Linked DNA regions of Homo sapiens: region 2 is linked to region 1. Evidence: promoter capture Hi-C in human tissues and cell types (Jung and others, 2019). All regions are on one chromosome and are shown on one strand. The core of a region is centred on a gene start or on the middle of the fragment in contact, and the rest is flanking DNA. Distances in the headings are between cores, read along the strand shown. Region 1 holds the start of PSEN2 (presenilin 2). Region 2 overlaps RNF187 (ring finger protein 187).

Region 1 (4,293 bases), core at 548-3,047:
AGCATATATCTGATAAGGGTCTAGTGTCCAGAATATATAAAGAACTCTTACAACCCAACAACAAAAAGACAACCCAATTTTAAAATGGGCAAAGGACTTGAATAGGCATGTCTCCAAAGAAGATATACAGATGGCCAACAAACACATGAAAAGGAGAATGCTTAATAGCATTAGTTATTAGGAAAATGTAAACCAAAACCAGAATGAGGTACCGCTGCACACCTACTAGGATAACAATAAAATGGAAAATAACAAGTGTTGGTGAGGATGTGGAGAAATTGGGATCCTGTACATTGCTGGTAGGAATATAAAATGGTTCAGCCATCGTGGAAACCACTTGGGGTTCCCCAAATAGTTAAACACTGAAGGCTGGGCACGGTGGCTCATGCCTATAATCCAGCACTGTGGGAGGCCAAGGCAGGCAGATAACTTGAGTTCAGGATCAAGACCAGCCTGGCCAACATGGGGAAACCCCATCTCTACTAAAAATACAAAAATTAGCCAGATGTGGTGGCACACACCTGTAACTCCAGCTACTCAGGAGGCCGAGGCAAGATAATTGCTCGAACCTGGGAGGCAGAGGTTGCAGTGAGCCAAGATTGCGGCCACTGCACTCTAGGCTGGGCAACAGAGCAAGGCTCTGTCTCAAAAAAAAAAAAAAATTGAATTACCATGCGATCCAACAATTCAACCCCTATGTATGTACCCTCCCCAAATAAAAATGGGCTCTCAAACAAATACATGTACATGCATGTTCATGGTAGCATTATTCACAAAGCCAAAAGATGCAAACAGCCCCAATGTCCATAGATGAATAAACTGTGGCATACATGATACACACACACACACGCACACACATATACATATACACACACAAACACTATTCAGTCATAAAAAGGAATAAAGTCTGTTACATGCTACCTGAGGATGAACCTCGAAAACATGCTAAGTGAAAGACACAAAAGTCCACACACTGTGATTCCGTTTATATGAAGTATCTAAAGTAAGTAAATATAGAGACAGAAGTAGACTGGTAATTGCCAGGGGCTGGGGGGGAAGAGGGCATTGGGAAGAAACTTCTCAATGGGTATGGGGTTTTTCTTTCGGAATGAGGAAAATGTTTTGGAACTAGACAGAGGTGGTGGTTGCACAGCATTGTGAATTCACTAAATGCCACTGAAATGCCCACTTTAAAATGGTAAATTTTATGTTATGTGAATTTCACCTTAAGTTAAAAAAAAAAAAGTAAAACTACTCAGACAACGCCAAATTATTGACAATCTCAACCTACCCCACAGACCCCAAATCCTGGAACCACAACCCCCTAGGCCAATTCTCAGGTCAGGCAGCAATTTATTCCTGTTCAATTTTATGCAGAGCTCCTGGTGGCTCTGAAGCGCCCTAGGGAACAGACCAGGAACATTCTCATGGTGTTAGCTCACATTGGGCCATTAGTGCTCCTTTAATGTGAGAACAACCGGGAGGAGGAGGGGATGTGGACCCAAAACTACAAGAAAGAGTGTCCTCGAAGCCTATGTCCTACCGCCCCACGCTGCTGCCAGGCCCGCAGGAAGATGACAGGCCCGGCCTCCACTCCTTCTAAGGTCGTCGCTTAGTTCCGACGTCGGGATGACCCTGTCATCCACGCGGCGTGAAGGCCACCCTCCCCGCGCGCCCGGGACTCCAGGTGGGGCCCCAGTGGACGAGGGAACGCGGCGTCGCCCACCGGGCGTGGCCTGGGCGGGCGTGGGGCGGGGCCTGGGCCGGCGCCGGGTCCGGCCGGGCGCTCAGCCAGCTGCGTAAACTCCGCTGGAGCGCGGCGGCAGAGCAGGTGAGCGGGCGGTGCCGGGGGGTGCCCAGGCCAGGGCCCTGTCGCCTGCGGCGCTGAGGGCCCGGGGTGGGGCTGCGCCCTGAGGGCCCTGCCCTGCCCTCCGCACGCCTCTGGCCACGGTCCCTTCCCCGGCTGTGGGTCTGCGGCCCCTGCGTGCGCAGCGCTCCTGGCCTCTGCGGCCAGCGCGGGGGCGGAGAGAGGAGAGTGCCCGGCAGGCGGCGGCTGGGCCGGCCCGGAACTGGGTCGTGGAAGGATCGCGGGGAGCGGCCCTCAGGCCTTCGGCCTCACTGCGTCCCCACTTCCCTGCGCCCGCCTGCCGCCGAGCCCCGGCTGGGGGTGGGCGCGGCGCGAGCGGTTAAAGGGCCGGTGCATTTAAAGGAGCGGTGCACGTGGGTCTCTGAGGCGTGTAGCAGGCGGGGGCGTTTTGTTCTTCTTCTCTCTCGCCGGAGACCTCCGTTGCGCCGAGTCCATTCGGCCTCTAGCACCGGGTCCTGGGCATGCTTTCCCCGGGAAGGAGGCGCGCGGGGGCTCTGCCCGCACGTGAGGGGCAGGGCCGCAGGCTCAAGCCTAGAGCCGGTTTCTGTTAGCAGCGGTGTTTGGCTGTTTTATCAGGCATTTCCAGCAGTGAGGAGACAGCCAGAAGCAAGCTTTTGGAGCTGAAGGAACCTGAGACAGAAGCTAGTCCCCCCTCTGAATTTTACTGATGAAGAAACTGAGGCCACAGAGCTAAAGTGACTTTTCCCAAGGTCGCCCAGGTACGATATAGCAGAGCCAGGCTTCGACCCCAGTGTCCTGGCTTCTAGATCTGCTGTCCATCCCTCCGAGCAGACCTCACCCCTGTTTATTGCCTTAATAAGTATTCCCTTTGAAAGGTATGAACGGTGTTGAGTGAAGTAACTGCATCCCTATTTACAAATGGAGAACCTGAGAGCATTCCATAGAGACGATTGTAGACTAACTTAACTCAGAAGCGACAGCCTGGGGTTGCCAAGGCTGTCTACGAAGTAACTTGATTAGGACCGACCCCAGCTTCCAGTAAGGAAGCCTCTGATGCCTCTGTAGCCAATTCTGCAGACACCTGAGCCTCCAAGGCCTTCAGCCAAGACCTTTGGCGGTAATTGGAGTCTCGGGATAAGCTGCTTCAGGTGTGTGAGCCTCAGGTTCTTCTCTCCTGAATGTGGTTGTGGGCAGCCGGTGACTGGCGCAGGTGCAGAAGGGGCCTGGTTCTTGGCCCCACCTCAGAGCTGCGTCCTCACGACGCCCACGTTGAGCCTTGGGTTCCAGGGCAGAGACTGGAGTGAGGGCTTGGGGGCATGTTGCTTTGAAGTGGGATGGATGTATCAGGTTTTTGGGGAAAACTCTGTACCCTTTGGTGTTGAAGTGCCCATGTGCCAAGTCTTGAGTCCAGCATGTTCACATGTGGGGAGTGAGTGGCTTGTTCCTGTCTATTTGAAAGAGCAGCAAGGAGGAGGAGGAGCAAGGGCTAGGGGCTGCTGCTGGGGTGCCTGGAGCTGTGGTGCATAATGTCACACCTGTCTCCCCTCCGTAGCTGCTCACCGTCCCCCCAAGGGGGGTTTGCCTCTTGCCTACTTTGGCCTTTCTCTGTTATCGATGTTAATAATGACATATATCTCGCTTATGAGTTGGTCATAATAAAAAGCTATCTTGTACAGAATATTAGAATTTAAGATCTTAAGAATTTCAATGACACTGAAATAGTTTATTATTACCTTTTTACAGAAGAGGAAACAAGTTCAGGGAGTTAAGCAGCTAGTCCAGTTATGTGGCTTCAGTGCTTTAAGCACCAGGATTTGAACATAGCTGGCTACACTGTCTTTATCTCTTGAGTTTTTGCGCAGGAGGTTCCTGTATTCAACTCCTACCCGTGTCTCTCCACTACTGCTGGGAAAGTTTTGTGGAGTCCCCATGAGCAACTTCCTGACAAACAAACAAAATTTTTTTAAAGAAACCAAAGCAGTGTGTGTAGGTCACATGCAGTGTGTCTAATGAAAACATCTCTGGCGGGTTTTCAGCTGTTGCTTTGACTTTCGGACACTGTTTAGTTGGGGACTGATAAGACAGCAAATATTTCTGCAAGTATTCCCACCTGTTCTATTCCCAGCTGCCACAGCTGCGGAAAGGCGGGGGTGAGGCTGAGAGGCCCCGAGAGGAACATTTTCCACTGGGCTCCAATCCTGGAGATGGGATGACCATCATGTTAATGTCTGGAGAAAAGAATGATTTCAGGCTGGGTGCTGTGGCTCATGTCTGTAATCCCAGCACTTTGGGAGGCCGAGGTGGGTGGATCACCTGAGGTCGGAAGTTTGAGACCAGCCTGACCAACATGGAGAAACCCCATCTTTACTAAAAATACAAAATTAGCCGGGCGTGGTGGCACATGCCTGTAATCCCAGCTACTCAGGAGGCTGAGGCAGGAGAATCGCTTGAACCCAGGAGGCGGA
Region 2 (4,293 bases), core at 900-3,399, 1.6 Mb after region 1:
GCTAAACCCACCTCACAGAGTCCTTGCTGCAGGCAGGCAGGGCGATCAGACATTGGCTGCAAACGGTCAGAGAGGAACCCAGTCAGGTACCATTGAGGGTGGTCAGATATTATGGTTAACCAAATTAGGGTTCTTGCTAAAACTGGATTTCATAAGAAAGGGCAAAGAGGGCCCTAGGAGAAGATTCCAGAGCCTGGCCAGAGTTTGGCCAAGTAGAGAATCTTTGTCAGCACGCCAACAACATCCCGACCCTGAGACCTCCAGTTTGTCTTTCTCACTGTCTCCGCCTGCTGCAGTCTGCTGTCATCCCTGAGCATCCCTGCCCCTGCCCTGCACACCTGTGATGCTTGCCCGGACAGGTCCTGATGGCAGAGTCTCCCACAACATCAGTGTCTCCACATCACCAGGTCCGACAGTGGCTTCACCATCCTCACCTAACCTAGCTGACCAGCAACATCCCACCCTGTCAATCACAACCTCTTTCTATTTAAGAAAATTATATATTTATGGGGCACAGTGTGATGTTTTGATATCTATGTACATTGTGGAGTGACAGATTAATGTATCCATCTCATGTTTTTTTTGGTGGTGAGAATATTTGAAATCTACACTCAGCAATTTCAAATACAGTCATCCCTCTGTGCCTAAGGGGGATTGGTTCCAGGACCCCCTCATGGATACCAAAATCTGCAGATACTCAAGTACCCTGCAGTCAGCCCTCCCTCTGCACATATGTGGGACAGTCAGATACAGAGGGCCAACTGCGTACAGTACACGGTTATCAGCTGAAGTCACCATGCTGTGCAATAGACCTTGAGTTTATTCTTGTATAGCAGGGACTCTGTACCCTCTGACTAGAATTTCCCCAAATCCTCTTGTCTCAGCCCCTGCTAACCACCGTTCTACTCTCTAATTCTATAAATCAACATTTTGATTCCACATATAAGTGAGATCATGTGATATTTGTCCTGTTCCTGGCTTATTTCACTTAATATAAATGTCCTGTAAATTCACCCATGTTGCAAATGGCAGGGTTTCCTTTTTTATGGCCAAATAGTATTCCATGATGTGTATACACCACATTTTCTTAAGCCATTTATCCACTTTATCCCTTTATCACTTTGCTTCTAGACCACGTAGGTTGATTCCGTATCTTGACTGTTGTAAAAGTGCTCTTAAGAAACACAGGAGTGTGGGTATCTCTTCCATATATTCATGTCGTTTCCTTTGGGAAAATACTTAGCAGTAGGATTGCTGGGTCACGGTACTCTTTTTAAGTTTTTGAATAACCTCCATATGCTTCTCCATAATGGCTATAATAATTTACATACTCACCAACATTTATTTTCTTTGAAATTAGTCATTCTAAGAAGTGTGAGATAATCTCATTGTGATTTGGTTTACGTTTCCCTGATGATTAATGATGTTGAGCATTTTTTTATATACCTGTTGGCCATTGGTATGTCTTCTTTTGAGAAGTGTCTCTTCAGGTTCTTTGCTCATTTTTTAGTCGTTTATTTGCTTTCCTGCTATTGAGTTTGAGTTCCATGTATATTTTGGATATTAACCCCCTACTTAATGTATGGTTTGCAAATACTCTATCCCAATTTGTGAGTTGTCTTCACTCTGTTTATGATTTCCTTTGCTGTGCAGAAGCTTTTTAGCTCTATGCAATCATGTATGTTTATTTTTCTTTTGTTGCTTGTGCTTTTAGGGTCATATGCAAGAAGTGATACAACCCTGAAACCTAGGCCAGTGTCATGGAGTTTTTCACCTGTGTTTTCTTCTACTGGCTTTACAGTTTCAGGCCTTACAATTAAGCCCTTGTCTGTTTTGAATGGATTTTTGTGTAGGGACATTCCCTCCACAAGGGCTTTCTCTGGCCTTGCTGATGCTCCTCCGTCTCCCTTGTGTCCTCTCCACTCCACCCTCTTCATGTGGAAGAACCCTTGGCATCCTCGTGTGGCCTCTCTGTCCTATCCAGCCCCCCATGGTGACCTCACACTTGCCTCTCTGACGTGGGTCTCTCTCCCAAACCCTCTTCCAGGTCCAACCACTGCCTCCATCCCAGACTTGCCCAGGGGCCCAATCCCTGCAGTCCTCAGACATCTCAGAGCTGTCTCTGAGTTGTTTTCTCTAACAGTCCACAATAGGTCTGCAAAGGAATCCTGCAGGCTCTTCCTGTAGCCAAAGACCTTGACCTCATCTTACCTGCTCCCCGCCAGTCCCCCACCGTGGCCCACTGGCACTGTCCTCTTCTGCCCAGGAGACCTGGGGACCTCATCTCCTCCCGCTGCTCCAACAATGCATTCTCAACCCAGCAGGTAGATGGGTTTCTACTTTAAAATATGTAGGATGAACCAGTCTGGTGATCCGATGTACAACAGGAGGAATGTAGGTAATAAAATTGCACTGTTTTGGGAGTTCCTGCTAAATGACTAGACTTCAGCTGCTCTTGCCACAAAATCCTAAAAGTGGTTGACTCTGGGAGGTGATGGGAATGTTAATTGCTCCCCTGTAGTGACCATTTTGCTATCTGTTTGTACTTTGTAACATCACGTTGCATACCTTAAATATACACAATGAAATTTATTAAAACAATGAAAATAAAAACTAAGCAAGAGCCTGCCCCTGCTGTACTCAAGGCCCTGCAGCAACTCAGATTCATTCCGGGAAAGCTTCGCAGTGGCCTGGGAAGTGCTACATAATCCACCCCGAGCTCTTCCTCTCTCGTCACCACTGTGCCCCCTGCTCCCTGCAGACCCAGCATGATGGCCTCTCTGTTCTTCAGCAAGCCAGGTGGGCCCTGCCTCGGCCTCTGATCTCCAGGGAACATTTCTCCCCCATACCTGTGTGGCGGTTGCCCCTCTCCTTCAGGTCTGCTCCCACAGGGTGTTTTATAGAAATGGCTTGAAACAGACGCCCTTCCTCAGCCCTTGACCACGCAAGCTCTGAGGAGCCACTGGTGTCCCTGTGGCTTTGCTGCAACCAGATCTCTCTGGTCAAGGGCAGCCCTAGGCAGGAGGATCTCCGAGGCTGGCTGTGGGTGACATGTGGAAGGAAACTGAGGCCAGGCACTGCATAGAAAAGCAACAGTTTGTTTGCTGGAAGGTAGGGGACACATTCTCAAGACACTGATGTATTTGTCCAGTAGCTCAATACTTTTTTCTCAACTCTTATTTTCAGAGCTTTGTGGGAAAGCCGTGGATAGTTGGGACCCAAAGGTCGTTTTCAGTTTCAGGATCCTGTGGCCAAAGAGAGGAGATAAAAATGCTTGGGGCCATTTTACCTTCTACATTACCTAACTGAGTAGCTATTATTTCATGAGGTTGACAGCAGCAAAATATAAGGAGATGCTTAAACTATTTAGTAACTGGAGAATCATAATTAAAACCATAATGAGATACTGCTTTAGCTCGGGGTGGGTTGGGGCGGGGGTGGTTCGGGCGGGTGGTGGGAACTGCAGCACTAGGTGATGTTGAAGTCTGAGTGATGATGGCACATTAGGTGAGCCCAGAGGTGCTGTGAGGAGTGTAGAATAAGGCCGCTGCTTTGGAGTGCAGTCTGGGGTCAAACTAAAAGGCATACCTTGGAGAAACCATGGGTTTGCTTCTAGACCATTGCAATACAGCAAATACTGCAATAAAGCAAGTCCCATGAAATGTTTGGTTTCCAAGTGCATATAAAATGCTTTTATAGGCTGTAATGTAGTCTACTAAGTATGCAGTAGCATTATGTCTAAAAAAGCCAATGTATGTACCTTAATTTTAAAATACTTTGTTGCTAAAAAATGCTAATGATCATCTGAGTGTTCAGTGAATTGCCATCTTTTTGCTGGGGGAGGGTCTTGCCTCAATGTTGGTGGCTGCTGACTAATTAGGGTGGTGGCTGCTGGAGTTTGGGGTTGCTGTGGCAATTTCTTAAAATAAGACAATGAAGTTTGTCACATCAATTGACTTCCATTCAAAAGACTTCTCTGTAGCATGTGTTGCTGTTTGATAGCAGTTTACCCACATAACATCTTTAAAAATTAGAGTCACTCTTCTCAAACCCTGCCACTGCTTTATCAACTAAGTTGATGTCAATTCTAAATCCTTTGTTGTCATTTCAACCGTGTGCACAGCATCTTCACCAGAAGTAGATTCCATCTCAAGAAAACACTTCCTTTGTTCATCCATAAGAAGCAACTTGTCATCCATTCATGTTTTCTCATGAGACTGCAGCAATTCAGTCCCATCTCCAGGCTCCACTTCCAATTCTCGTTCTCTTGCTGTTTCCACCACATCTGCAGTG

The links. The method cuts DNA at HindIII sites, captures the fragments that hold promoters and counts their contacts. A contact is called where the count stands out against the background at its distance.
Region 2: a fragment that was not itself captured here is called in contact with the fragment with the promoter of PSEN2 in region 1 in 1 of the 25 tissues and cell types used here (bladder).

The regions. Positions count from the first base shown.
Region 1 is chr1:226,868,819-226,873,111 of GRCh38, forward strand. It overlaps PSEN2 (presenilin 2), which reads left to right and starts at 1,798. Exons shown (of 13, transcript NM_000447.3): 1 at 1,798-1,831; 2 at 2,444-2,586. It overlaps LOC105373119 (a long non-coding RNA gene), which reads right to left and starts at 1,732. Exons shown (of 3, transcript XR_949226.4): 1 at 1,544-1,732. RefSeq lists silencers at 1,601-2,200, 2,211-2,260. The HindIII fragment of the contact is 9,487 bases long and covers 1-4,293 here.
Region 2 is chr1:228,495,248-228,499,540 of GRCh38, forward strand. It overlaps RNF187 (ring finger protein 187), which reads left to right. Exons shown (of 4, transcript NM_001010858.3): 4 at 1-941. Among named protein-coding and RNA genes, the nearest start is that of RNF187, 10 kb to the left of the region's middle. The HindIII fragment of the contact is 3,191 bases long and covers 555-3,745 here.